Regions from separate parts of the Homo sapiens genome. Here all the other regions are linked to region 4. Evidence: promoter capture Hi-C in 16 types of primary human blood cells and fetal thymus (Javierre and others, 2016). All regions are on one chromosome and are shown on one strand. Each heading gives the region's core, a stretch centred on a gene start or on the middle of the fragment in contact. The rest is flanking DNA. Distances are from core to core; before and after follow the strand shown.

The links. The method cuts DNA at HindIII sites, captures the fragments that hold promoters and counts their contacts. A CHiCAGO score of 5 or more calls a contact.
Region 1: a contact is called between a fragment that was not itself captured here and the fragment with the promoter of WSCD1 in region 4, in 4 of 17 cell types (endothelial precursors, M0 macrophages, M1 macrophages and 1 more). The highest score is 13.6, in endothelial precursors.
Region 2: a contact is called between a fragment that was not itself captured here and the fragment with the promoter of WSCD1 in region 4, in 1 of 17 cell types (endothelial precursors). The highest score is 5.6, in endothelial precursors.
Region 3: a contact is called between a fragment that was not itself captured here and the fragment with the promoter of WSCD1 in region 4, in 7 of 17 cell types (endothelial precursors, M0 macrophages, M1 macrophages and 4 more). The highest score is 9.3, in endothelial precursors.
Region 5: a contact is called between a fragment that was not itself captured here and the fragment with the promoter of WSCD1 in region 4, in 2 of 17 cell types (endothelial precursors and M0 macrophages). The highest score is 11.1, in endothelial precursors.
Region 6: a contact is called between a fragment that was not itself captured here and the fragment with the promoter of WSCD1 in region 4, in 3 of 17 cell types (endothelial precursors, M0 macrophages and M1 macrophages). The highest score is 10.1, in endothelial precursors.
Region 7: a contact is called between a fragment that was not itself captured here and the fragment with the promoter of WSCD1 in region 4, in 3 of 17 cell types (naive B cells, M0 macrophages and M1 macrophages). The highest score is 5.8, in naive B cells.

What each region holds. Positions count from the first base shown.
Region 1 is chr17:5,780,912-5,785,139 of GRCh38, forward strand. All of the region lies in intron 1 of LOC339166 (a long non-coding RNA gene), which reads left to right. Among named protein-coding and RNA genes, the nearest start is that of NLRP1, 200 kb to the left of the region's middle. The HindIII fragment of the contact is 570 bases long and covers 2,057-2,626 here.
Region 2 is chr17:5,728,553-5,732,787 of GRCh38, forward strand. It overlaps the pseudogene LOC100128284. Among named protein-coding and RNA genes, the nearest start is that of NLRP1, 150 kb to the left of the region's middle. RefSeq lists an enhancer at 3,958-4,235. The HindIII fragment of the contact is 3,350 bases long and covers 506-3,855 here.
Region 3 is chr17:6,358,394-6,362,374 of GRCh38, forward strand. The region is part of intron 2 of LOC105371509 (a long non-coding RNA gene); the gene reads right to left. Among named protein-coding and RNA genes, the nearest start is that of AIPL1, 75 kb to the right of the region's middle. The HindIII fragment of the contact is 192 bases long and covers 2,387-2,578 here.
Region 4 is chr17:6,068,314-6,072,206 of GRCh38, forward strand. It overlaps WSCD1 (WSC domain containing 1), which reads left to right and starts at 2,066. Exons shown (of 9, transcript NM_015253.2): 1 at 2,066-2,339. RefSeq lists an enhancer at 1,302-2,133. The HindIII fragment of the contact is 6,207 bases long and covers 1-3,893 here.
Region 5 is chr17:5,798,036-5,801,911 of GRCh38, forward strand. All of the region lies in intron 1 of LOC339166 (a long non-coding RNA gene), which reads left to right. Among named protein-coding and RNA genes, the nearest start is that of NLRP1, 220 kb to the left of the region's middle. The HindIII fragment of the contact is 319 bases long and covers 1,530-1,848 here.
Region 6 is chr17:5,762,053-5,765,797 of GRCh38, forward strand. No RefSeq gene overlaps it. Among named protein-coding and RNA genes, the nearest start is that of NLRP1, 180 kb to the left of the region's middle. The HindIII fragment of the contact is 2,351 bases long and covers 137-2,487 here.
Region 7 is chr17:6,340,376-6,344,233 of GRCh38, forward strand. LOC105371509 (a long non-coding RNA gene) reads right to left here. Exons shown (of 4, transcript XR_934188.3): 4 at 2,144-2,496. Among named protein-coding and RNA genes, the nearest start is that of AIPL1, 93 kb to the right of the region's middle. The HindIII fragment of the contact is 5,958 bases long and covers 1-3,858 here.

The DNA.
Region 1 (4,228 bases), core at 1,092-3,591, 290 kb before region 4:
CTGTGGGTTTGAGAGTCTGAAGGGTAGACCTGCTGTCTGAAGGAATGGGAGTGAAGAGGAGAGAGGAGATGTGAGAGAGAAAAAGGAGAGACGGGGAGGAAAGAAGAAAGAGAAGAGAGATGCTGATAGGGCCTCAGGGATGCTGGTGCCCAGGGGGTGGTGAAAGGGAGGAGGGGAGAGAGATACAAAGGAGACTGAGGGTGGGGTGAGGCATAGGGAAGTCAAACCAGGGAAGAGTGTGAAGAGGGAGGTGACCGCCAGTCAAATGCTGCAGAGAGGGGAAGAGGATAAGGCAGAGTGGGTGCCTGGGAATTGAGCCTCGGTGGTTGGGGGTCAGGGGTGGGGTTGGAAAGCTAGTGAGGAAGGTGGACCACAGTACTGTGTAGATGCCTGGACGGGGGCTGCCTGGGATCCTCCTCTGAGGGTCTTGCCTGGGGACTCAAACCAGGATTCTATAGACAACGTCTTCACGTGGCAAGTTATTTTTGCTGTGAACCCACGTGGTCGCGCCTGGTAATTATAGGGTAAAAGGAATTAAGCAAGACATAATTTCTCCCCATCAAACCTGACTGTTTTACGTCTCCACCTCGCACCGGCAGGCAGGCTTTCTCCCTTCACAGGTGCCACTTTGATTTCAGTCACGTTGGAAAGGAATTTGAAACATCTTCAAAGTGATTAAAGAGAGGAAGTCATTGCAAATGTGGGCTAAATGTAATAATCACATAAACTGTTTATGGCCATGGAGCTTTCAGGAGGGAAGGCCTTGTGGTAGCTGACAGTCGGGGTGGGGCTGGGGCTGGTGAGAACAGTGGTGGCAGAGGTGGCGACGGCACTGCAGGTACAGGTGGAGGATGGCTCAGGTGCAGGTGGAGGATGGCTCAGGTGCAGATGCAGGTGCAGGTGGAGGATGGCTCAGGTGCAGATGCAGGTGCAGGTGGAGGATGGCTCAGGTGCAGATGCAGGTACAGGTGGAGGATGGCTCAGGTGCAGGTGGAGGATGGCTCAGGTGCAGATGCAGGTGCAGGTGGAGGATGGCTCAGGTGCAGATGCAGGTACAGGTGGAGGATGGCTCAGGTGCAGGTGGAGGATGGCTCAGGTGCAGTGCAGGTGCAGGCACAGATGCAAGTGGGGATGGATCTAATTGTAATATTAATTATTATTATTACAGCTACTGTTTTTTGAGCATTACTACTCCCTTAGTGCTGTCTCCTTTAACCTTCATTAGAGCCTCATGAAGTGAGCATGATGGTCCTTATAATAAGGGGAGCAAGGTCCAGAGAAGTTCAGTCATTTGTTGAAGACACACACCTAGGAAGGGGCAGGGTTTGGATGTGGAGATAGTCCCATCCCAATTCAAAACCACTCAGCCTCAGCTTCACTGTGTGGGGTCCATGGTCCACGTCTGCTCCCTATGGCATCCCAAGGGGACTCTTTCATGTTCAGGGAATTTGACCTTTGAGTCTAGACCTGGGACTGAGTGGGTGAAACCCTGGCTAATAATTCACCAAAGACTCCAAGACATAAGGGTACTCCTGTGACTCCCTCCCTCCATGCAGGCAAGGTCTTGCTCTGTTGCCAGGCTGGAGTGCAGTGGTGCAATCTCGGCTCACTACAACCTCCACCTCCTGGGTTCAAGCAATCCTCCTGCCTCAGTCCCCCGAGTAGCTGGGATTACAGGCGTGCACCACCATGCCCAGCTAATTTTTGTATTTTTAGTAGAGATGGGGTTTCACCATGTTGACCAGGCTGGTCTTGAACTCCTGACCTCAGGTGATCTGCCTGCCTCAGCCTCCCAAAATGCTGAGATTACAGGCGTGAGCCACTGTGCCTGGCCTCAGATGCCTTTATAAAGCAACTTTAGTTTTGCCTCTTTAAACTCACTTTGTAGGACTTGTTTTCCCCTGATCCTAATGAGATCTCCAGAAGGCCCTGCACTTCTCTGACCACATTTAGATCATAAAATGTTATCTGGTTGCCTCAGCCCCTTGGACAGTCTCAGTTCAGTAATTAGTATGTCTAATCTGGGGCAATACCCAAGGCTCCAAACTTCATTTAAAGCTTGCAATCAGGAAAGGGAGTTGGGGGAGATTTTTCTCTCTTTACTCCCTGCAATAGGTTCCTATTGAAGCTGCATCAAATTATCATGAACTTAGAGGCTTAAACAACACAGATTTACTGTCTTATAATTCTTGATTTATTATCTTGTGGTTCAAAAGTCCAAAATGGGTTGTCAGGACAGTATTCCTGTGGAGGGTTCTAGGGGAGAATCTACTTCTTTGCCTTTTCCAGGTCTCAGTGGCTGCCTGCATTCCTTGGCTTGTGGTCCCGCATTGGTCTGACACCACTTCCAGTTTCGTACCTCCTTTCCAGTGCATGCTTTCTTGACAACGAATCCCCTAATTTTGTATTATTTGCAAAATTGTGGATAGGCTGAGAATCTCCCAATTCCTTTTTCTTGACAGTTCTCTCCTCGATTTACCTCTTTCCTCTCATGTTTTACTATAAGCAGCATGAAGAAAACAGGCTGCACCTTCAACACTTTGCTTGGAAATCTCCTCAACTAAACATTCAAGTTCATCATGTATAAGTTTTGCTTTCCACATGACTGTAGGACACAGTTCAGCTAAGCTTTCTGCTTCTATGTAACAAAGGTCCACTTTCGTCCAGTTTCTAATAACACGCTCCTCATTTCCTTCTGAGCCCTCATTAGAAGCATCTTTAAACTTCTATTTCTGCCAATGGGCTGTTCACAATGATTTGGGTGTTTAGTAAAATGCTACATGTTTTATTATTGTGCTCCTTATTTCCTTCTGGTCATTCATGGTGGAGGCTTTAACATCCATCTTCCTATTGGCAGTATGTTCAAGACAATCTCTGCTTTCTCTATTGTGCCCCTCAATATTCTTTCATCCTCTGCCAACTGCCCAGTTCCAAAGCCATTTCAACATTTTTGTGTATTTGTTATAGCAGCACCTCACTTCTAGGTTCCAGAAATCTCTATCAGTCAGAGTTCAACCAGAGTAACAAGGCCAATGGGAGATAAATATTAAGAGATTTATTGCCTGAAATTGGCTTATGTGATTGTAGGGGCTGCCTAGGCAAGCCTGAAACTTGTAGGGAAGGCTTCCAGGAAGGGCAGGATGGAACTTGCAGGCGCGAGCTGATTCTGCTATCTGCAGGTGGAATTTCTTCTTCTTTAGGGAAGTCTCAGTTCTGGTCTTAAGGCTTTCAACTTATTGAATCAGGACCACTCGGATTATCTGGAATAACCTCCCTTCCTTAACATCAACTGATTATGGACTTTAATCACATCTACAAAATACCTTCACAGCAACACATGGATTCATGTTTGTTTGAATACGTGGGGATTGTAACCTAACCAACTTGACACATAAAACTGACCATCACCCTCGCCCATTCTCCTCTCCTCATCCCACTAGCTAATGAGGGATGAGTGAGGCTAGGAGGTGTGGACTAGGGTAAGGAAAGAAGAAAAGGGCAGGGATGGTTTTCATAACTGTGTGTATGGGGTGAGGGGAATCTGGCAATTATTTCCTCTGACATCAGCTGCTGTTTAGAGCCAAGCCTTTCTCTCATAGGTGCTGCTGAGAGTTTTTCAGACCCCTGGTATTATCAACCTCTGCTGGATAATGCTGCATAACAAACAGCTCCAGAACTCAGTGGCTTAAAACCAGCATTTATTCTCATGGTCATGGGTTTGCAGCTGTTTGGCTGGTTCAGACTGTTTGGCTGGTGGGTCTGCTTCAAGCTATGGGTTCAGGTGGCTGTGGCTCCAGGTTGTGGGTTTGGTTCTTGGCCCCTCTGTGTTCCCTGTAGGGCTCAGGCCCAGGTTCATCTTCTCAAGATGGATCACTGGGACACCAGAGGGCTAGCCCTGCCACATGCAAGCATATTTGCAGCCCTGCCTTGCTCACCTTTTCCCTGCTTTCAGAATACCCCTTTGGCCATAGCAAGTCACAGGCCTAGCTCAAAGTAAAGGAGCAAGGCACCTGTGAGCAGTCACCTGTGCTCACCAGGAGTCCATAGCCAAACTGTGACTATTATAAAGGAGTGAATCATCGTGACCTATGATGCCATATACTACCCTCATCCCTATTCTGGGATCTCTTTTACTTGCCCACTCTCTGTGGGCAGTTTATGACATTCTCTGTTGACTTCTGATTCCTGGGGATGCTCTTCCTCACGCAGACTGTCTTCTGGGGTCCTG
Region 2 (4,235 bases), core at 931-3,430, 340 kb before region 4:
CTAATATTCATATGGAACCAAAAAAGAGCCCACATAACCAAAGCAAGACTAAGCAAAAAGAACAAATCTGGAGGCGTCACATTACCCGACTTCAAACTATACTATAAGGCCATAGTCACCAAAACAGCATGGTACTATTATAAAAATAGGCACATAGACTAATGGAACAGAATACAGAACCCAGAAAAAAAGCCAAATGATCTTTGACAAAGCAAACAAAAACATAAAGTGGGGAAAGGACACCTTATGCAACAAATGGTGCTGGGATAATTGGCAAGCCACATGTAGAAGAATGAAATTGGATCCTCATCTCTCATCTTATACAAAAATCAACTCGAGATGGATTAAGGGCTTAAATCTAAGACCTGAAACCATAAAGATTTTAGAAGATAGTATCAGGAAAACTCTTCTAGACATTGGCTTAGGCAAAGACTTCATGACCAATAACCCAAAAGCAAATGTGACAAAAACAAAGATAAATAGATGGGGCTTAATTAAATTAAAAAGCTTCTTCACAGCAAAAGGAATAATCAGCAGAGTCAACAGACAACCCACAGAGTGGGAGAAAATCTCCACAATCTATACATCAGGCAAAGGACTAATATTCAGAATCTACAATGAACTCAAACAAATCAGCAAGAAAAAAAAAACAAACAATTGCATCAAAAAGTGGGCTAAGGACATGAATAGACAATTCTCAAAAGAAGATAAACAAATGGCCCCAACAAGCATATGGAAAAATGCTCAGCATCACTAATTATAATGGAAGTGCAAGTCAAAACCACAATGTGATATCACCTTACCCCTGCAAGAATGGCCATAATAAAAAAAATCAAAGTAATGGATGTTGGCATGGATGCAGTGAAAAGGGAACACTTTTACACTGTTGGTGGGAATGTAAACTAGTACAGCCACTATGAAAAACTGTTTGGAGATTCCTTAAAGAACTAAAAGTAGATCCACCATTTGATCCAGCCATCCCACTACTGGGTATCTACCCAGAGGGAAAGAAGTCATTATACCAAAAAGAAACTTGTACACACATGTTTATAGCAGCAAAATTCGCAATTGCAAAAATGTGGAACCAACTCAAATGCCCATCAGTCAACAAGTGGATAAAGAAACTGTGGTATATACATACAATGGAATACTACTTAGCCATAAAAAGGAATGAATTAATGGCATTCACAGCAACCTGGGTGGAATTGGAGACTATTATTTTAAGTGAAGTAACTCAGGAATGGAAAACCAAACATTGTATGTTCTCACTTATATGTGGGAGCTAAGCTATGAGGACACAAAGGCGTAAGAATGATACATTGGACTTTGGGGACTCAGGGGAAAGGGTCGGGGGTGGTGAGGGATAAAAGACTGCACATTGGGTACAGTGTACACTGCTTGGGTGATGGATGCACCAAAATCTCAGAAATCACCACTAAAGAGCTTATTAATGTAACCAAACACCACCGGTTCCCCCCCTCCAAAACCTATTGAATTAAAAAATTAAAAGTAAAAAAAACGTGTTTGAACCTAGTTATAATGATTTAAAATTCATGGGCCAAAACTGCAATTACTTTTGCACCAACCTAGTGCAACTCCACCCAGTGAGAGCAGAATATACATTCTCTTCAAACACACCATGAGGTCTTCCTGCAACCTTCCCTGATCCAACATGGCTTCGTGGCTGTGCAGCATCTCTGCAGTGTCACAGTGGCTACTGGAAGGCCCAGGCCTGTGCTGGGGATGTTGCAGCTGCGGCTGTGCTGCATTTCTATCCCAAGGACAACGAAGGCTACTGGTTCTGCTCCCTCTTTGTTCACAAAGTGGATCCCTGGAAGGATGCCCACTCTGCCCTGCTGTCCAAGAAGGAGACCAGCAACCTCTACAAGATCCAGTTTCACAGTGAGAAGCCTGAGTGCCCGGATGCCTATAGTAGGCACTGATGGAGGCAGCACTGTCCATACTGCACTAGGATGAGGACTACCCTGCTCCCTCATGGGCAAGTGGAACACGTGCTGTAGGGAGCAGGACCAGGCACTGCACCTGTGGAGGTTCTCAGGTGGCTACTCAGCCCTCGCGGACTGCATGACAAGGAGTACCTGGAGGTCCGGAAGGAGTGCAGCTGGATGCTGTTGTCCAGGAGACACCAATTGCTCCTTGAGTTCAGCTTCTGGAATGAGCCATAGCCCAGCGTGGACCCCAACATCTTATGAGCTGAGGACATGCAAGCTGAAGCCAGGAACCATGATGGAGTAGGGGAACAATTGGGGTCCTGCCAGCAGGTACCAGCAGCAAGTCCCAGCAGGAGAACCAGGAGGTGATCGTGGCTCCTCCCAAATAGGAGAGCTCCACCTTGTGCATCATCTCTGGTCCTATAAAGACCCACAGTCTTGGGAGGAGACCCGAAGTGCTGCCTGCAGGAAGAGGGCTTGGGATGAAATGTCTATTGTACAGTTCCCCTCGGGCAACACGTGGAGTCTTGGATCCTCTTGAGGATCCTCTTGAGGTCCTCTTGAAGACCTCACCTCTCCAGTCATGCTCCCAACACTTCTACCTTCTTCCCTTTCTCCCTCAGGGCAACCCTGGACAGAGGAGCACCCCAGTCCTACTGTCATGGTTTTCTCTTGGCTCTGGGAGGACTCTGAGGGTCCATGCTTAGCTCAGACAACGGGGAACTGAAGGATGACAAATTCTGAGGACTTAGAGCTCAGCTCAGCTCCTTCCTGCCTTCCCCTCCTCCCTCCTTCCCCCTGCTGGAAGTAGTTCCTAATTTCTCTGAATGAAACATAGCAATCTTCTAGGTCTGCTGACATCTTTTCCTAAGATTTCTCAGTCCCCAGCTATCACCACAGAAATCCTCGGTTTAGCTTAATTGCACAAAAGGAAGTATGTCCAGTGGTTAGAGGTGGGATGGGAGGGAAGGAGGTCAGGTCAGGCCAAGCCAGGTCCTCAGGAATTCCCTGATCTCCACTGAGCCACTGCCACCCACTTGCTGTTTAGTCTAAACCAAGTCCCTCCTGATGGGGAAAATCCTGGAACTGCTAAAAAAAACCCCTCAAATCGGCAAGGTCAGGAGGATGTCCAGACATTCCATCCAAAAAGACAGGGAAAAAGGATGGGACCCAGGAAGGATTTAGGGGCAGGAGACAGACATGTAACAGAATCCAGAAGGTACAACTTAGAATTCAGAACTTGAGTTTGAACTGCAGAATTTGGAATTTGGAATACAGAATTGGAAGATAGAACAGAGGTGACAGGCTGGGCGCGGTGGCTCATGCCTGTAATCTCAGCACTTTGGGAGGCTGAGGTGGGCAGATCATGAGGTCAGAAGTTCAAGACAAGCCTGGCCAACATAGTGAAACACTGGCTTTACTAAAAATACAAAAATTAGCCTGGCATGGTGGCATGTGCCTGTAATCCCAGCTACTCAGGAGGCTGAGCCAGGAGAATTGCTTGAACCCGGGAGGCGGAGGCTGTGGTGAGCCGAGATCTTGCAGTGAGCCGAGATCATGGCACTGGACTCCAGCTTGGGTGACAGAGCGAGACTTGGTCTCAAAAAAAAAAAAAAAAAAAAAAAAAGAAACAGTTGGAATAGAAGAAGTCTGGGGCATATCATTTAGATGCTAAAAAAAAAAAAAAAACAACATTTCCAGGACATTTTAAAGGTATTTGGAATCAGGGCTGTTGCTCCCGGTGGAGTAGGTTCCCAGGGAGACTGGGACACAGAAAAGAAGGGACTTGGAGTCCCGTCTGCTGGGCACTCAGCTCAAAGCTCACACCCCTGACGGACTCTGCTTGACGTTTACATGTTACCCTTCTCAAACGGGGCTTCTGTGCCTCCTGGAAATTTAGGTAAGCTTGGTTCAACCCTCCCAAGTTACAGCCTGCGAAAGCTGAGGGTCTTCCTCATGATCCTGGACAATTCCTGATGGCCTAATTCTTCAGTCTGTTCTTTTCGGCATTAGAGGGTGCAGCCTCCTGCCATCTTGGATAAAAAACCCAGTCTGCAGTGGTTTCACTAAGGGTGCTCCCAACAGATGATTCATGGGTGTGGGGGACTTGCTCAAGATTTGAGGGGTCTCGCCAGGCTCCCCAGAATCTTCATCCATTTCACTGTTCCTCTTCCCCTTCCTCTCTCTTTTCCTCTCTTTTTCAGGGTCACCAGCCCTCTTCCCACCATCTAAAGCTCATATGAGCTTACTGTGTGGACCCACTCAGAAGCCCAGAGTTGGAAT
Region 3 (3,981 bases), core at 1,233-3,732, 290 kb after region 4:
GCATTTCTTTTTAATTCACAGAAGGACATGATGATCTGGGCCCTAGTGGGGTATTTATACAACCCCCAACAATGACACAGGACTGCTGGTAAGAGCCAACAGACCTGAAGATGTCTTAAGGCCGGATGGATGGCTCAGTCATCATTCAGGTGAACCATCTCCACCTATGCCCACATGGGAATATGATATTGGGATCAGACACACCCTGCTCCCACACCTATGCCTGGGCACCATAAAGCCCTTCCCACCTACCCAGAGCAGGGGCAAAAGAGGTAAATCAACGGAGATAAAGTTGATGATGGTTTTAATAAGAAATTAACTTGAGTTATAAAGAATAACATAATGGCTCGTTTCCAACAGCAGGGTAGATTTGATTGCCCTGAAGGACCTTCCCAGGTGAAACTACTAAATGGTTAAATAAAATATTTTTTAAAATCTATTGAAATGCATTACTGAGTTGGCACGAAAGTCAGAACTCTGCAAAGCCCTAAAACAAAGTGAAATAAGAAGTCTGGAAGGAAAATGAGTGCCAAAGTCTGCTTTCTCCCTGAAGGCTTCTGCTAACCTCCGGAAACGCTGAGGTTCTTCTCTGATGACTATCTGAGGTGTAGGGGACAGGAAACCAAAGCCAGTCATAGCCCAAGGCTGGCGATCTAATGTGAAATCCCTGCATAACGTTGAGGTTCACAGAGGCCAGACTCTAAAAGTGAATAAAAAGTAAACCTGGGCTGGGAGCAGTGGCTCACACCTGTAATCCCAGAACTTTGGGAGGCCAGAGCGGGCAGATCACCTGAGGTCACAAGTTCGAGACCAGTCTGGTCAACATGGCACAACCCACATCTCTACTAAAAATACAAAAGAATTAGCCAGGTGTGGTGTCATGCACTTGTAATCCCAGATATTCCAGAGGCTGAGGCAGCAGAATCGCTTGAACCCGGGCGGCAGAGGTTGGCAGTGAGCCGAGATCGCACCACTGCACTCCAGCCTGGGTGATAGAGCAAGACTCCATCTCAATTAAAAAAAAAAAAAAAAAAAAAAAAAAGAAGTAGTAAACCTGGATCGCCACAAAGAGGCAACAAGGAAACTTAACCAATGCACTCTGGCATGGGTTGGAGGGGGAAAACATTGTAAACACAGGCCACTTCTTACATAACTTTGAGATCCAAAATTATACTAGTTGTGAGATCCAAAAAACTTCAGGCAGTGCCCCTGGGCACTTCAGAAGCAAATAAAAATCCTCTCTGGAGAAACTCAACCTCAAAGAAGTCCCCAAGAATCCTCACAAATAAAGTCCCAAGGACAATAAGCAGCTTACAGCCCAAAATCACAAAACATAAAAACATATGAGGAAATAAAGTATCATGCGTAAAAACCTTCAGAGAAAAAAAAGATTCGCAAGAACTTTAGACATTGGAATTTTTCGGTATAGAATATAACATACACATAAATAGACACAGGAAAAAATGGAAGTTAAGCTAAATAGAAATAAAATACAATAATAATAATTAAAGGCCAGGCACGGTGGCTCACACCTGTAATCCCAGCACTTTGGGAGGCCGAGGTGGGTGGATCACCTGAGGTTGGGAGTTTGAGACCAGCCTGACCGACATGGAAAAATCCGGTCTCTACTAAAAATACAAAAAAATTAGCCGGATGTGGTGGCACATGCCTGTAATCACAGCTACTCAGGAGGCTGAGGCAGGAAAATCGCTTGAACCCAGAAGGTGGAGGTTGACGTGAGCCAAGATCATACCATTGCACTCCAGCCTGGGCAAAAAAAGCGAAACTCTGTCTCAAAAAAAAAAAATTAAATTCACTAAACATATCAGCTAGCAGATTAAACACCTGTGAAGAGAGAAATGGTAAACTAAAAGATCTGAATAAATGATCTAGGTGCAGCCCATAGAATAAAAAGATGGAACTATGGAAGAGGGATTAAACAAAGGAAATATGTCAAGAAGGTCTAATATAATGATCATCAGAGTTCCAAAAGAAAATAACAAAGAGAATGAGAAAGTGGCAATACAGGAAGAGACAATAGCTGAGAATTTTCCAGAACTGTTGAAAAACACCAATTCTCAGTTTAGGGAAAACCTGTGAATTCCAGGCAGAATAATATTTTTTTAAATCTCTATACTAGGTACATTACAGTGAAATTGCAAAATATCAAAGAAAAAGAAGACCACAATTAAGATTACAACCAACCTCTCAAACACTACAATGGAAGAGAGAAAACATGAAGATTATCTTCGTGTTGAAAGTACTGTAGACGTAAAATTCTATATCCAGAAACTTTTCTTTCAATAATGAGGATTTTAAAAGACATTTTGAGACAATAAAAACGGATAATTTACTAGTATAGGATGCCCACTAAAGGAAATTCTAAAGCTTATGCTTCACACAGAAGAGAAATGGTCCCAAATGAAAGGTCTAAAATGGAAGGTAGAATAATGAGATAAATATTGTAAAATAACTGGCAAAGTCTAAGCAATGACTGTACAAAACAATATATCATAATGTCAAATTCACTGGAATTTTAAAAATAGGCTAGAACTAGAATGTTGAACAACAGCTTGTAAGCTTGGAGGAAAGTAGTCCGAAAAAATTGTTCTAAGGCAGATTTTGTCTGCCCTCTGCCTCAAGGTTATATCCCAGGGATGCACTTTATAATGAAGGTATCATTTCCTCCAGAAGACAGGAGGGTGCTTGAAGAGTTGCTTAGGAACTGGGGGATCAGCTTCCTCTATTCCTTTGGCTCCTCCCTATCCAATCTTATTGCTCTGTTATGTTATTTTCTGCCTTCCTATCTTAGCCAGAAGCAGGAAATTCTACTTTTGCAATTCTGCAAGGCACATGGCTTATCCCATCAAGACTTAGTCTAAAGAAAGGGGAAGGGAGGGTTCTTCTGTCAACACTGCTTGCTCCTTCCTCTCTGTTTTCCAGATGAGCTGCTTAGACCATGTTTATTGTGGACTACATTTATGCCCTCCCAAGAGGCCATAAGGAGTAGCCAACATACTCTAATATCCCCGAAATATCTACCAATCCCCTGAAGTGCCATCCTCAGTAAGCACACAGTAACAATTTAACCAGCTGCATAGCTACTGATAACAAGGGCTTCCCAGCTACAAACTGAGGTATTCCCCTGTGCCTCATTCCTCTTCAGCTCAGCAATGCCAATTCCAAGTACCAATTTCTGCCACTTTTAGGAGTCGTTTGTAGGTAACGCAAATTCATCTCAAAAGACTTTAGTCAGGAAAGGAAATTTACTGGCTCATAGCATTGGGACGTCCGGACCTAGAGTTGACCAGGGTCAGAGACTCAAACAGTGTTCTCAAGACCCGTTTGCTGTTCACCCTGCTTACATCTCAGCTCCTTTTATAGATCACCCTCATTCTCTCCAACTGTAAATGGATATATCCAGCAAAGTTGGCCACAAGCAGCTTCACTTAATATTGTGGTTTATCTAAAATTCAGTTAATTGGGTGGGCTGTATTTTACCCGGCAACTCAATATGGGAGAAATCTGATTGGTCCTGCCTGAGTCACATGTCTATCCTTTGGCCCAATCCCTGTGGGCAGAATTGAAATAGCCCTGTAGCCAGGTTGTACAGGAAGCACTGAGATTGATAGTCCCACCAGAATGCCATAGGATGCAAGAAGAGCGGTTCCCAGTGAAGATAAAAATCTCTGATGCACTTTGGGAGGCTGAGGTGGTGGATCACGAGGTCAGGAGTTCGAGACCAGCCTGGCCAACATAGTGAAACCCCATCTCTACTAAAAATACAAAAAATTAGCCAGGTGTGGTGGTGTGCACCTGTAATCCCAGCTACTCGGGAGGCTGAGGCAGGAGAATGGCTTGAACCCGGCAGGCGGAGGTTGCAGTGAGCTGAGATCACGCCATTGCACTCCAGCCCAGGCGACAGTGTGAGACTCTGTCAAAAAAAAAAAAAAAAAATCTTCAATGAATAAAAACAAGAGA
Region 4 (3,893 bases), core at 816-3,315:
GCTGCCGGGAAATGTCTGGCTTCCCAGAGGAGCTGGGCTTGAATTCCCCTGGGCTCAACTGGCTGTGAGCCTTTTGTGATCACCCACCTGAAAGCCTCATCTGTCAAATGGGCACATGAAGGCATCTATAGACTTATCAGTTTTAAGTGGGACAATGGGTACGAGAGGGCCAGGGCTGGCTTCATGGGTATGAGATCTGTGAAAGGCTCTGAATTCTGTGCTCAGAAGGGACCCGTACTGGTTTAATATCCTCCTTTTATCTCTCGAAATTCTTGATAGTGTTTTAAAAGGGGGCTCCATTTTTATTTTAGGCCCTTCAAATTATGTAGCTGGTCATGGAGAGGGCTTTGCAAACCAAACAGCATTGCGAGACTGCACAGTGGGTTGCTGTTATAAATCGTAACGACACACACATTCACATTCTGTAAAGGATATATATGTGAAGGGGGCTTTTCTGCAAGGTTGGGACTCTGAGGCAGCACAGAATTCGTCTCTCACTTACTGTATCCTCTTCCTGGGCTTAAGGATATTAAATCCAGGTGCCCCAAGACCTTCAGAGCATTCTGCCTTCATGCGGATGGTGCAGACTCTGTTCTAATTCTGCACTTGGCCAGACATAGCTATGCAAACTGCAGCGAGTCTCTTCCCGCTCTGGGCGCCACCTGACTGACCCGCGTAAGGAGGGACTGTGACTGGTCCCCAGGCAAACGCTTTCCCTGCCACCTGCACCTGTTGCAAGCCAGCTCCTCGGAGCCAGGCCAAGCAGCTCTGCCCCTAGCGGGAGTCGGAGGCATGAAACTCCCTTTTAGGAAGACGGAGTAAGAGGCACCACCACCTGCTCCTGCTGCCTCTGCTGTCCTCAGCTTCTGGGAGCATCTTAGCAGCCAGCTCCGGGTGAGGACAGGGTCCACCGGTGCACATGGCAGAGCAGGGCAGATGCTGTGACTTGGCGGCTTTGGGGGAACAGGGTGGGGCTCCTCCCTGGGAAAAATCTTTAGGTTTGGATCCAGCCTTTATTTAAAGAGGGGGATTGTGTATAGACTTGTGTGACTGTTCAGCCTCTTTCCACCTCGGTGCGTGTGTGTGTGTGTGTGTGTGTGTGTGTGTGTGTGTGTGAGAGAGAGAGAGAGAGAGAGAGCCTGTGGGTCAATGCCCAGTATGCCCCTCTGAGAGTGTGTCTGTTAGTAGACACCAGTGTGTGACATTGCTTCTGTGGGCAACTATGTCAAGGCGTGGGTTTGTCACTGTGTGCGGTGTGGAGCAGTATGATAAGCCGGCGGCCGACCCCCGAGTGTGTAGACGCGGGAGCTGGTGTCAGGGTATTTGTAGGGCTGCAATTCTGTGTAGGTCTGTCTCAGATTGTGTGAGAGTGTCTGTGTTCCAGCAGGTGCTTGTTTCTGAGTGTGAATGTGTGTGAAGCTGTGACCGTCTGTCTCTAGCTCTGCATGGGACGGTGATCCGGTGTGTGTGTGTGTGTGTGTGTGTGTGCGTGCGTGTGTGGTGTGTGTGTGTATTAGAGTGCACTCTAAACTGTGTGGCTGTGTGTGTACGTGTGCGTGCCTGTCACAGTGGCCCAGTCTGCTTCTGGGTGAGTGGGGCAGAGCCCAGAGAGTGTGTGTGTGAGTGTGGGTGTCGGTGTCTCTGGGAAGCAGTGATTCGGGATGTGTGTGTCAGGCAGTGTGCGGCTGTCGCTGTGAGTCTGCATGGGAGAGTGGCGGCGTGCTCTCCTCTGCGCGGCAGTGCCCCGTGTGTTTGTGGGTCTGTGTCTGGGTGTGAGCGTCATGGTGCGTGTGTTAGAGCCCGTGGGGCCCCGGTGAAAGGCTGTGGCTCTGGGTGACTGGTGTGTGTGTGTGTGTGTGTGTGTATCAGAGTGGGTGGCGGCGTCTCTGCTCGGCAGTGGCGCGTGTGGCCCGCCCCGCGCGCGTGTTCTCGCGGGCCGGGGCAGGGCGTGGGCCCCCTCCGGCGGAGCCGCGACCCCTCCCCCGGGCGGCGGGAGGTGCGCACCGGCGCCTCTAGGACCCGGCGGCGGCCGGCCGCTGTCCCCGGGCCGCGCGAGTGAGCATGTGCAGAGCCCGGCGCCCGCTCGCCCGCCCGCTGCCCGCCCCGGCTCCGCGCCCGCCCGCCCGCCCCGCCGTTCAGCCCGGACGCCAGCAGCCCCGGGGAGCCAGGCGGCGGCGCCCTGTGCCCGGGCGCGTGGGTCCGCTTGCCGCGGGCGGCCGGAGACGTGCGGGCGCCGGGGCTTCTGGGCTCCGGGCACTGCGGGGGGCTGCGGGCTCGGCGCCCGGGGAAGGCGGGCCATGGGCGCGGGTGCGGGCGCCCCAGCCGGCCGCGATCGCGGGGTGAGTCCTGTCTCTCGGCGCTCCAGCCGGACCCCCGCGCGGGCTGCGAGCAGGGTGTTCCCCTTGCCGCGGGCAAACAAGTTTGTGCAGACGCGGTTGGGAGCGCGGCGGGGCTGCACCTGCTCCGGCTGCAGGGCGGGCTTGCCGGGGGCACCTTCCCGGGGGCCCGGGGCGGCTCGGCCGGGGCAGGGGAGAGTGAGCGGGTGCGTGCAGGGGTTGTGGGGGGGCGGGGGCGGCGCTCGGCGCGGCCGGGATGGGGTGGGGGTGCGCGAGGCGCCGCACGAGCCGCGTCCCCCTCCGGAGTCCTGAGAGCCCGTCCGTCACCCGGGAGGGCGCTGCGGTTGGTCCCGGGGAGGGGGCGAGGGCAGGGTGTGGGGTGCGCACAGCTTCCCTCCTAGGCGGCGACGTTTACCCAGAAGCAGCTCCCTCTCGTTCCGCTACCAAGAGAGGCTTCCGGTCAGCGGAGGGTTTGCTCCGTCTCTTGGTGAACTTGAACAGAGGCAGAGGCAAAAGCAAAACGTATGTATTTTGTCCAGAAAATTACCTAGTGTAGAGCTTTGCGTCTTCGTAGGTGTGGACGGAGACTCACGACTGAAGGTTGCTAAATTGCGTTTTTCTTGGCTACTCAGGAGCGTACGTACCTGGCTGGGTCCCCTGCCTCCGGGTAACCTCGCTGGTGGTTTTCCTGAGCATTTGTGCGCCTGGGATGATGCCTGCTCTGCTGATCGGGAATGCGGGTGGGGAAGGGGACCGCTCTTCCTTCCGCTGAGCAGTGGGAAGGCTCATATAGGAGTTCTAGCCTCATAGCCCTGCACTGGGATCCAGCTGCTCCCCACACTGGCCCTGCCCCTGCAGCTCCCAAGATGGACAGATGCAGGACTCCGCTGTACTTTTCTAACATGAGATACCCGCATCCCTCTTGTTGCTGGAACAGCATGCTTAGGTTTATGGAGGCACTTGGTTTATCCCACTTTGGCATCAGGAGTGGGGGCCTTTCTTTTTTCCTCTGATTTGCCTAGGTTGTCAGGCACAGAAAGTGAGGGTGGTGGGGAGTGAAAGTTACAGGAGATATAAAGCTGGCTTGCCCTGCGCTGTTTGCAATCACCCACTCCTGGTGGCTGCAGGTGCTGGGGAGAGAGCTAGGGGAGGTTTCCTTGGGCTATGGGAGAATGAGGTTTGTCTCTCTCAATCATGCCCCCACCCCCACACACTTAGATTGGCCCTCAGGAGATCCTCCGGGAAGGGGCCTCAACCGGCTGCCAGAGCTCAGGGTTTCTAGGAGGAAGAGCAGGAGCTCTCCCAGGCATGGGATCTGAAGGAGGCTTGGCGGTGGTTGGGCTGGTGGCTGAGCCTGACTGCCTCATCTTCTCCGCCAGAAGGCTCTCACCTGTGGCTGCATCCTCCAGGCCTCAGCAGGGCCATTTCCACAGCTCCTCTGTAAAAATGCCTTCTTCTGGGGTGAGGGGATCCCTCTCTTCAGTGGGCATTGTGCCCTATGGGGTACTGCCCTGTGGCCTGTGGCATGTCTGGTTGGAAGTGAAGAGAAGCTGGGAT
Region 5 (3,876 bases), core at 439-2,938, 270 kb before region 4:
GATATTGTGGGCAGAGGCCAGAGATGCTACTAAACATCCTCCAAGGCACAGCATCTCCTGCTCTGAACAAAGAATCATCTGGTTCACGATGTCAGCAGTGCTGAGACTGAGAAGCACTGATCTAGGCTGGACTCTTAGGGGAGGAAGGGTAAGAATTTATCTGTGGGCTCCCATATCCTTTTGGTTAGAATTTGCTTCAAGGGATGCTAATTCCTCACATTTCTGGGTTGTTTGTAATGTGAGCTTCAATTGGGTCCCCTGGTGTCTCTTGTCTCTGCAGCAACAAGGACGTCCTGAGGTGGGAGGCAAGAGGCTTGGAGCAGGCATGGGGTGAGGTGGCGATGAGGGTTTTGAGCAAGTCCCCCAGGCTGCTGCAGGGGTAGAGTCCACAGCAACCTGACTCTGACTGTGACTTGACTGTAAGACCACAGGAATGGGACAAGCCACGGCTCCAGCCATTCCAGATAGAAATCAAATGTGCAGATCTGGGGTAGCTCATACACTGAGTGCTATATAGCCTCATCTTTTTGAGCCAAGGTCTCCAAGGCATGGTTTTCTGGCCCTCCTAGGGACTGTCTTCTATTGCGCCGGGTGCCCACCACAGGCCAGTTAGCCAGGGCTACATGTGGGCTAAGGTGGGGAGGGTCGTCGGGTAGAAAACATAGCTGCTTATTCAGCAGAAACTCTGAGTAGAAAAAATCTAATTAGAGTGAGAATGAGTGGGACTGGCAGTGATTAACATCTCAGACACACCGCACTTGGAAAATCTACCTGAAGTCCTTTGTGGAATGAGGTGGGTATGAGCAGTTGTGTGCTAGTAAATGTTAACAACTGGCTCTTTTGGAGGTAGGTCAGGAGATGCCTGGCTTTGTATGTTCATCACTTTTTGTGGTATAAATGCTCCTATTGTGGCCAATTTCAAGCTACCAATGGTTTAACAACCAGCTTGGAACTTTTCTGAAAATTCAACAATTGGCTCTTGAGAGCCAATATAAGCTGGCTGTATAGTAAGCCTGGTATAAGTAAATAAGTTAATTACAAATGAACAGCTTAGCATGATGGAAAAATAGTTGTGAAATATCGCAGACCTTTCTCTCCTCCAGCATGGCCTTCTCTCCAATTTTAAGCAGTCTGATCATTCTGTACTGATTCCTTCAGAGAAAAGGGGTATGTCAGAAAGGAAAGGGTTGTGAATTCTTTTCCTGAATTTTATGTTCTAAAATAACAGTATTAGACAGAACAAAAAGCTCCTTTGAACAGTCAGACAAAAATATTTAAGACCGGGAGACTGAGAAGAGTAACCACCATCTGGTCTCTGGAAGAGCAAAGATTCCAAACGCTAAGGGAAGAAAAGAACACAGGAGTGGAGGAGAAGCTGAGAGTATAGTTCCCTGTGTGTCCCGGGGGGAGCAATCTGGTCCCTACCTCCTGGGCAGAGCCCTGGGGAGGCAGCATGACCCCAAGAGAAGTTTGTGGGATCTGGGAACAGAGAGGACCTGTGCCCCACTCTCTGAGGGGGACCCCAGGGAAGCTTAGAGAAAGAAGTTATCGACAAGGTGGGACCATATGGTCTATCTGTAAAAATCCTGTTCCCTGTTGCGGTGCAGGAGCAGCTGAATGATTGCTGGGTTTTCAGACAAGCCGCAGAAATACAGGCCGGAGCTTGCAGACCTGAAAGAGCCAGATGAGAGACCTGCGAGGGGCAGAGAGGATGATGGGCATCTCAGAAGATGCTCGTGCGGATGGACGACATTGAACACCCAATTGACTTCGAGCTATATAGGAATGTGGCCACAACCCCAGGGAAAGGAGGGGGTCCCCTGAGATTGGTTTATGCACCGTAGCAGAAGCTTGAAATAAAGTTACAAAGAATTTTTTTGTTCACAGTGAAATTTGTGGACCATGATTGAAATTCAAGCCCTTTGCTTTAGACTAGGGATCAGTAAAGTTTTTCTGTAAAGGATCAGAGTAAATATTTTAGGCTTTGAGGGTCATATATGACCTTCTTCCTCTTTTTTTCCCCCTCTCCTTCCTCCTTCTCCTCCACCTTCTTCCTTTTGTTGCAACCATTTAAAAATGTAAAAACCATTCTTAGCTGGAAAAAGTCCCCTCAAAGTTTGTCCTCCTCCCGCTGCTCCCAGTCCACAGAGCTGCTGTCTGAATGAGGTTTTCCACCGGCAACACTACTAGATTTTAGAAAGCCAGGAAGATTCTCCTGCAACGAGATTCAGTTAGTACAAAATGTATTCGCTGACCAGGAGGATGACACTCTTCTCTGGCCACAGGCCACATGATGAAGCCTGCATCTGGCTGTGGAAGGAATCTTCAGCATGGCCGAAGTCTGCTGTTTCTTCCATCTTTGATCAAAACGGGGGCACATTTCCCTCACCCCCAGGGGACCAAATCCTCTCCCCAGGCGCACTTGCTCCACTCAATGCCTTCTCTCTCCCCGTCCCTGCCTTTGGAAGATCATCTTCCGGGACCCAGCAGCCCTGAGAATTCACGACAGGGTGTGGCTAGGGCTGGATGAAGGGTTACTTACAGTTTCTCATAAATGGACTTCTAGGCGGCTGGTTTCAGAAGCCCTCAGTGGGAAAAACCAGTCGGCCCAGTGATTTTTTATTCATTTTCCTTAGTTTCTGATTTAATTTTGAAAGACAACCCATGGACCCAGATGGAGAGATAGACCACACAGTGGAGGAGCTGTCTGGGTTGCCGCGTCATTGTCATGGTGATGTGAGCCACCGCTGTCTCCAGCACACCCTCAGAGCACTCCCTGGGAGAAGGTGCCAGAGCAGGATATAAAACCGACTTCTGAGAGGGAGGCGGGGCTGGCCAGGCTGCTCTGTAGTGCGGACTCAGAGGCAGGTCCAGTGACAGGCGGGTCTGTTCTGCACATGAACAACTGAGGAGCTGAGAACATCTGACCTGGACTGGGCCTCCTGAGTCTGTGGTAAGATTCTGGGGCTGAGGATGCCCAGATTGCTGCTTCTGAGGACTGGGCAGCTGCATCATGCTGCAGGCTGAGCCCTGACCCTGGCCTCAATGAGGACCTTGGTCCTGGCTATCTTTTAAAAAAATTTTTTTAAATTAATTATTATTATTATTATTATTATTATTATTATTTGAGAGATGGAGTCTCGCTCTGTCACCCAGGCTGGAGTGTAGCAGCGCGATCTTGGCTCACTGCAACCTCCACCTCCCAGGTTCAAGCCATTCTCCTGCCTCAGCCTCCTGAGTTAGCTGGGATTACAGGCACCTGCCACCATGCCTGGCTAATTTTTGTATTTTTAGTAGAGATGGGGGTTTCATCATTGCCCAGGGTAGTCTCGAACTCCCGACCTCAGGTGATCCACCTGCCTCAGCCTCCCAAAGTGCTGGGATTACAAGCCTGAGCCACTGCGCCTGGCCCGGTCCTGATTATCAGAGGAGCCCCAGTCTATCCAGACATCCCCGAGATATCCTCTGACCCCTAGTGACCCCTGCAGGTTAGGTCACAAACGTGTGAGAGCTCAGATGACTGTATGGGGCCAAGTTATCTGCTTTGAACAGAACTCAGAGCTGTTTCCTTCATTTTGAGAAAAGGGACAGGTTGGGAGCATTGTCTTTATATGCAAAAGACAATGTATTGGAAGGAAGCTAAGAATTTTCTTCTCAAATTGGGAGGACGGCAGTCCTGGCATCTTAATTTTATTTTTAGGATATTTTCTGCAAAAGAGGGGAGCGGGGAGTGAGGGGGAAAGCCCAATTCGTGCCCTCTTCAATTTTGAAACCATTAAACCTCAGGCAACTTGAGTGATAATCAGTCAATCCACAAGCAGCCTGTCAACTCATCAGTGCTTATGTACTTAACACCAGTGGGTTGGAGCGCGATTC
Region 6 (3,745 bases), core at 62-2,561, 310 kb before region 4:
TCAAAGTAGAGACAGTAATTCCTGCCTGGCCTTGCTCTTAGGATTTGAGGAGAGTCGTGTGTGTGTGTGTGTGTGTGTGTGTGTGTGTGTGTTTTGTGGACTGAATGTCTGTGACCTCCCAAAATCCATATGTTGAAGCTTAACCTCCAATGAACGTGATTGTATTTGTAGGAAGAAATGCCAGTGGTCTGTCTCCCCTGCCATCTGAGGACACAGTGAGAAGTCAGTCATCTGCAAGCCAGGAAAAGAGCCCTCATTAAATCCAAATCTGCTGACACCTTGATCTTGGACTTTCCAGCCTCCAGAACCGTGAGAAATAAATGTCTGTTGTTGCTTAAGCCTCCCTAGTCTGTGGTATTTTGTTATGGCAGTCTGAGATGACTAAGACAGCATGTGTGTTTTAAAGCAAGAAAGCAATATAAATGTACCTCATATTTCCTGGGTCTTTTTCAGCAGAGTGTAAAAATTGGGTTCTTATTAAGCATCAGTTCCCACTCATGGAGCAGGGACTCCAGCAGCCCTGGGGTCAGCTCCTCCTAGTGAACTGCAAGTGCACAGAGGGTATCTTACAGGTGCTCTGCAGTGAGTCCTCTCAGAGACCCTGTGGAGCTGAATTTCTCTCCCTCCCACTCTCTCCTCATTGTGGTGATATCTCTGATCCTGTGGATTCAGAGGAGAAAGCAGTGATACAGATGTTTATGGTGTCTGGCTCCAGACCACCAGCATCTGGTGCTGAAACTGGTGAGCCTTGGTAGCAACAGAATGAAGGACAACACCCTCAGCACCAGCCTGTCCAAGGCTCCAGGGATAAGATGAGCCAATATTCCCGTGAATCTAGGGTGACCAACCATCCTAATTTCCCTGGGACTCTCCCAGTTTTAGCACTGAAAGTCTCTTGTCCCAGGAAACTCCCCAGTCCCATGCAAATCAGGACAATTGGTTACCCTACTGCTAGTGTAAGATGTGTGTGGCACCCCATTCAGTTCCAGGCTGGGCACCTCAAGGAAGACTCCACCAGAAAATGAGCATCAGGAGTGCTGAGCAAAGCATCAACTCCTTCCCTAGCATTTTGTCTGGCTTAAAGCACCAGGTCCTCCTTCCTAGAATGAATCCCTAGAACTGTCCTGAGAAGACCACTATGAGGATGGCATTGAAGAGTCCATCACTTAGGCTGAGCTGAACCATTGACATGATCAAAAGGCAGCTCTGTCGATCTCATCAGTGTCTTGACAAGGAGCATTGGGAGCCAAGAGCCCTGTTGGTAGCCTGTGCTCAGGGCTACAGGACTGGGGAAGGGAGTTCCCCGGTGGAAGCTATACAACCTGCCCTTCTGCCATTCCCTGGCATTGACTCCAAGGAGGGTCATGACATGCTTCAGGGATGCCATAGCTCTCAAGCGGTCTGAGCTTCTAACTCAAAGTGCCTTAAGCGGTCTCTTTATACAGTCAAAGGCTGGGAGGTCAATGTCAAACTCCTCTTATGTCTGGAGTCAGAGGAAAGAAGCTACACCAAGAGATGAGAAACACATAGGAGAAGAGAGTCTGCTGCGGCATGAGAAGACAGGCAGGGAGGTACAGAAGATACGATGGGAGAGATAGACCGAGCCTGAGTCCCTCATCCCAGGCACAGAAAAACTCCGTCCCCCATCCTGGATGTAGACTCACCTCTCTCTGGCCACACACTGATCTCTAACCTTGACCAAACCCTGAGCTCTGACCTTTGACTCTTATCAAAGACTGAGACCCTGGCTACACACTGACTCTTGACCCCTGGGCAGCTACTGGGAGAGTCGTCTATGGACTTTGCAAATCTCTCTTTATGTAACAGCAGACACAGGCTCTGTGTTCATGCACGAGCTCGGCTGCTTTTCCCAGCGTCCATCAATGCCCCAATTACCTGCAAACTGCTAACACTCAAAGGAATTCTCTCTGTGTATTAATTGGGCCAAGCACACGTTAATCAGGTAACCCAGGCCCCCTCCATGCCTGCTGGTGTTATTTTCTCCGCAGAACCAGGTAATTTCATTGCTGGGCTTCGGTGAAAGTTGAAAAGCAGTGTCAGCTTTTTCTGCTCTTAATTAGCGCTGGGCTTTCTCCGGTAAGTCACTGATCATTATCAATGAGCTTGTAATTTTATGTCCCAGAATTAGAGACTGATGATTAAAAAGAAAATCAAAAGGCTGTGTTGCAGGTCCAATCTCCAAAGACACGGGCATTCTTTCAACCTCCATCATCTATTCCACTGTGACCTTTTCTTATAGCTTCACCGAGACTTCCCGAATTGCAACAACTCCTTCTCTTTGGGAAGGGGAGGGCTGTTTCTTCTTGCCCATCAGCAATGTAGGTGGCAGTGGCCAGCCCTCTGGCTGGTGGGGAGTAAGCTGGTGGCTTGTATGGGTTCTGAGGTTTTTGTTCAAAGAGGAGGCACACAAGGGATCTGGGAGCTCTTTTCTCTCCCTCGCTCCCTTTTGGTTCTGAGCACGCCTAAAGCTTTATCTGATCTCACTTCTGGGGCTTTGTACTTAGGACAGGGATGGTTCATGGAACTCTATCAGAACCAAACCAGGATGGCAGAGGCTCGAGTTCCACTGGGCTCCCGATGCTTGGTCAGGACCCTGAAACCCGTGCGCCTCTGTGGGGCATAGCGGGTAGTTTTGCCTGCACCCACTCCCCTTTCTTCTGGCCACAGCACCTTACTTTGCCCCCTCTTCTCTCAGTACATTAGTTAGGGTGACATCTCCCCCCACTTTCAGGGATGGTCTTGAGGCTCAGCCCTCACTGATTCTTGTATGCTCCTTTCCTATGGCCACGAGCCACTCAGGAACAGGCAGGTAGGTGATCCAAGGAGGCTCAATGAGATTCGGTTGTGTTGGAACTGTGGGAGAAGGGAAGCTCTCTTTGCTGCAGTTGCTAAGCCAGGAGGGGGTCTGCAGGGAGCTGCCAAAGTGTTCAGTTTGATGCTGATTTAAAGACCACACCGTGGGTGGCATTCGCGAAGGGGTATTGAATGGCTGCCATGCACTTGGTTTTGAGAGAATATGGGGACAGAAGATGCTTCAAATATTCTCGAGAGGGAAGGAAAGATAGAATTTATTGGTAAATCTCTAACAGATAAACCTCTAAATTAGTATACTGAATACATCATCCTTCCAGATGGAGGTTGCTGGCTTGTTCAAGCCTGAGATGTGGGTGCCCCCACCCACCTGACTCCCAGCCCCACTCTCTGGACTCCCTTCTAGTCACTAGAGTTCTGTGTTTTCTCTCTGCTCACATATATCCTCAGGAGGTGGCACAATGCACCTCAGAGCAGGGGGTTGGAGTCAGGATTCCTGTTTCCATCTGTTTGGGTCACTAACTAAATGGCTCTGAATAAGCAACATATCCAATACAAGGTTCCATTTTCTATTTTATTTTATTTTATTATTTTATTTTTTGAGACAGAGTCTTCCGCTGTCACCCAGGCTGGAGTGCAATGGCACGATCTCTGCTCACTGCAGCCTCCGCTTCCCTGGTTCAAGCAATTCCCCTGGCTCAACCTCCTGAGTAGCTGAGACTACAGGTGTGTGCCACCACACCCGGCTAATTTTTCATATTTTTAGTAGAGACAGGGTTTCACCATGTTGGCCAGGCTGGTCTTGATCTCTGGACCTCGTGATCTGCCCACCTTGGCCTCCCAAAGTGCTGGGATTATAGGTGTGAGCCACTGCGCTCAGCCCAGGTTCCATTTTCTACACTGGCTCTGCTTC
Region 7 (3,858 bases), core at 301-2,800, 270 kb after region 4:
CTTCTCCTCCCTGACCCTCACCCCAATCCGTCACCAAGTGTACTTGCAAAAAATCAAATACATGCTCATTAATGCCCTTCTGCTCACAACTTGTCTGTGGCTTCCCACTGCCCTCCAGGTAGATTCCAGCTTCCTGGGCATGGCATTCCAGGCCCTTCACGATCGGGTCTAAAGCGTGAATCTAAGGAAGAAGAGAGCTTATTTCTCATGCAGACCATTTGTCCCCAAGTGCTTGTGGGCCTCCACTCAAACCCTTCTGTGGAGGAGATGATGGCTTTATAGTTAGAATCTGTCATTTCCTAAAGTGGAGAGTGGTGGTGCGGGGTTGGGGGGGGGTGGTTATAATTATACGTACATTGCAAATTAAAGCTGTTATTAATCAAAGCATCCCTAAAAATATCAAAGACGTAATGTGACGTCTCAGAGCTCTTGTCCCGCTGGCTCCAGTGCAGATCCAAAAGGAAGCTGACCTTTTCCACAGCCGGATTATAAATGTCAGGATTGCATGGTACCATCCTTCAATTACTGTCACCTTGAAAGGGGAGAGCGCTGGAGGCCTCACACTTAAGTGTTTTCAATCACAGATATATTTCAAACACTGTCTCCTTGAGAGAGGAGCACTGGGCTCTGGAAGCTGGTACAGCCCCCACTGTGGCTTCTGTGTCACGTGCAGTGACCCAGAAAGTTAGTAACTTAAAAGACAATTTGGAGTTGATCAGAACTGCCCATTTAATCCCCTCCTGTTCCAACAAACTAAAGATTTAATTATTCTTCAATTGCTATTTGCAGAAGCACCACAGGACAAAGATGCCTCCATGAGGTATCTCCTAAATACAGATCACCGTAGATTGCTTTCCCCTTTACAAAATCACGTTTTTATTGTGCAGCTTTAAGCAAGATAAAAACTTTCCTTCTGGTCATATTTCTATTCTTCATTCAAAGTCTCCATGCAACAAGAAGGCAGAGAGGGTTGAGTCCAATAAGCAGGAAAAACCAATTCAATTTCCAGGCGGATCTGATGCTATGATATTTATAGAACACACATATCACATTAGCATCTTGCCATGCTATAATATAATTTCTTCATCTGTCTCCTGTAACCTATATTTACAGTAGGGATATTTTCCCTTCTGCACTTAACAAGGCATATTATTGAATTTTAGTTATTATAAAACATGGCCAATCAATATAATTCTCTGTTCCTCTTTTTTTTTTTTTTTTTTTTTTGAGATGGAGTCTCACTCTGTCACCCAGGCTGGAGTGCAGTGGCGCGATCTCTGCTCACTGCAAGCACCACCTCCTGGGTTCACGCCATTCTCCTGCCTCAGCCTCCCGAGTAGCTGGGACTACAGGCGCCTGCCACCATGCCCGGCTAATTTTTTGTATTTTTGGTAGAGATGGGGTTTCACCTTGTTAGACAGGATGGTCTCAATCTTCTGACCTCGTGATCCACCCACCTCGGCCTCCCAAAGTGCTGGGACTACAGGCGTGAGCCACGGCACCTGGCCTGTTCCTCTTTTTAACAGAACATCCTGGGTCTAATTTGAACTGGGAAGTCTGGCCCCATCACAAAGAGGAGAGTTGTAAATTCAACAGGCCTCACCAGGGAGCTTTGCTTCACTGTGGCCATCCTTCACAGCCAAATACATTCTGCTTCCAAGTTCGATGGTGCCAGAACTCCGGGTGGTCATCACGGTGGTCAGAGCCAGTGGACAGCCTGACCCATGAGCTCCACCAGCTGGTGGTTGGCCTATATCCTGGCCCATTTCACTCAGACACATGGCAGAACTTGTCCCTGCCTTGGGATCCCAGTGACTCAGATTCTTCACCCCCAGCCCCAGAAAGCAGGAAACAAGCATAGCTGGGAGGAGGATGTTTCATAGGGCAGACGTCGTTGATCTTAAACCCATTCTCCAAAAGCCTTTCCCATGCTTCAAAGGTTGATGTGGTGATTGTTTAGAGTGCAGTGAAAAGACTTTAGAGGAAACAGCCCAGAACCAGACTGTGAACCATGCCCAGTCCCTCCTCACGTCCACACTACACACAAATCCTGTTGGTTACGCCTTGAAAATGTACTGCTACATGCCCAATGGATGGGTTCAGTCTCTTCGTGGGTGCCAGCCCAATAACCACAACAAAGAAGGACTTAACAAGGGGATTTTATTACTTGCAGCAAGTAAGGGGACCACAGGGGATAATTCCTAAAACAGTGCCTCCTAAACAGAGGGCTGGGTCAGGTTTTATAGGCATGAAGTAATGAGGCATGATCTGATTGGATCTTGCAATGAAGTGATGCTGGGAGGCATGATCTGATTGGATCCTTCCATGAGATGATGCTAGGGATTGACCTGATTGGATCCTGGGTCCTGCCATGTCCACTTCTTAATTCAGTCCCCCGATCGTCAGTCCAAGCCCTTAGGTTCCCCCTCTGGCTGCACACTTGGTTCATCTGGGCATGCTCAGGTTATGTGACCTTCAACCTGAGGGTCACGGCAACTGAAAAACAATTCATAACTTTGTTTCTTACAAGTTGAACCAAGCTGGGCTCAGTGGCTTACGCCTGTACTCCTAGCACTGTGGGAGGCTGAGGCGGGAAGATTGCCTAAGCTCGGAGTTCGAGACCAGGCTGGGCAGCACGGTGAAACCCCATCTCTGCTAAAATACAAAAAATTAGCCGGGCATGGCAGTGTGTGCCTGTAATCTCAGCTACTTGAGAGGCTGAAGCAGGAGAATCGTTTGAACCTGGGAGGCAGAGGTTGCAGTGAACCAAGATCATGCCATTGCACTCCAGCCTGGGCAATAGAGCAACACTCCATCTCAAAAAAAAAAAAGTTGAACCAGATTGGAACCAGATTGGTCTGATAAGGTTACAGTATCAAGAATCCAAACATGTCTGAACACCTCCATGACTACACCCTGGTCCAAGTCATATCTCCCCTGGCCCTTTGCTGAGACCTTGTGACTGCCTCTCAGCCTTGGCTCTCACCTGCCCACACTCTATCCTCAACAGAGCAGCTAGACTGAGTCTTTTAAAACAGAAGTCCAGGCCAGGCGTGGTGGCTCACTCCTGTAATCCCAGCACTTTGGGAGGCCGAGGTGGGCAGATCACCTGAGGTTGCAAGTTCGAGACCAGCCTGAGAAACTCCGTCTCTACTAAACATGGAGAAACTCCATCTCTACTAAAAATACAAAATTAGCCAGGCGTGGTGGTGCATGCCTGTAATCCCAGCTACTTGGGAGGTCGAGGCAGGAGAATCGCTTGAACCTCGTAGGCAGAGGTTGCAGTGAGCCGAGATCGCGCCATTGCACTCCAGCCTGGGCAACAAGAATGAAACTCTGTCTCAAAAAAACAAAACAAAACAAAAAAAAAACACAGAAGTCTGATCCTTTCATTCTTACATGCTTCTGCTTCAAAGCCCTTCAGCGGGCTCCCCATCTCTCTCAGAAGAGAAGTCTCCCATGAGACCTACAAGGCCCAATGGCCTCCAGCTTCATCCCTCTCCCTCTCTCCATTTCAGCCCAGCTGGCCTCTGCTGTTCCTTGACTGAACAGCATGCCTGGCCCCAGGGTCTCCACTGGTGCGATTCCCTCTGCCTGGACTGGTCTCCCAGGACCCACGAGACCTGTTCCCTGGCCATTTCAGGCCTTCTCTGACAATCCACTTAAAATAACAGCTGCCCCACCCCAGCATCCCCACCCTGTTTGATTTTTCTTCAAACTATTTATCACCATCCAATATGCTAAATATGGTCCTTCTCCTCCCACTAGAATGTATACTCAACTAGGGTAGGGATTACTTTCAACTTTCTTGGCTTAATGTTTATTTCATTTCTATTTTCATGTTTTCTAACATTTTAT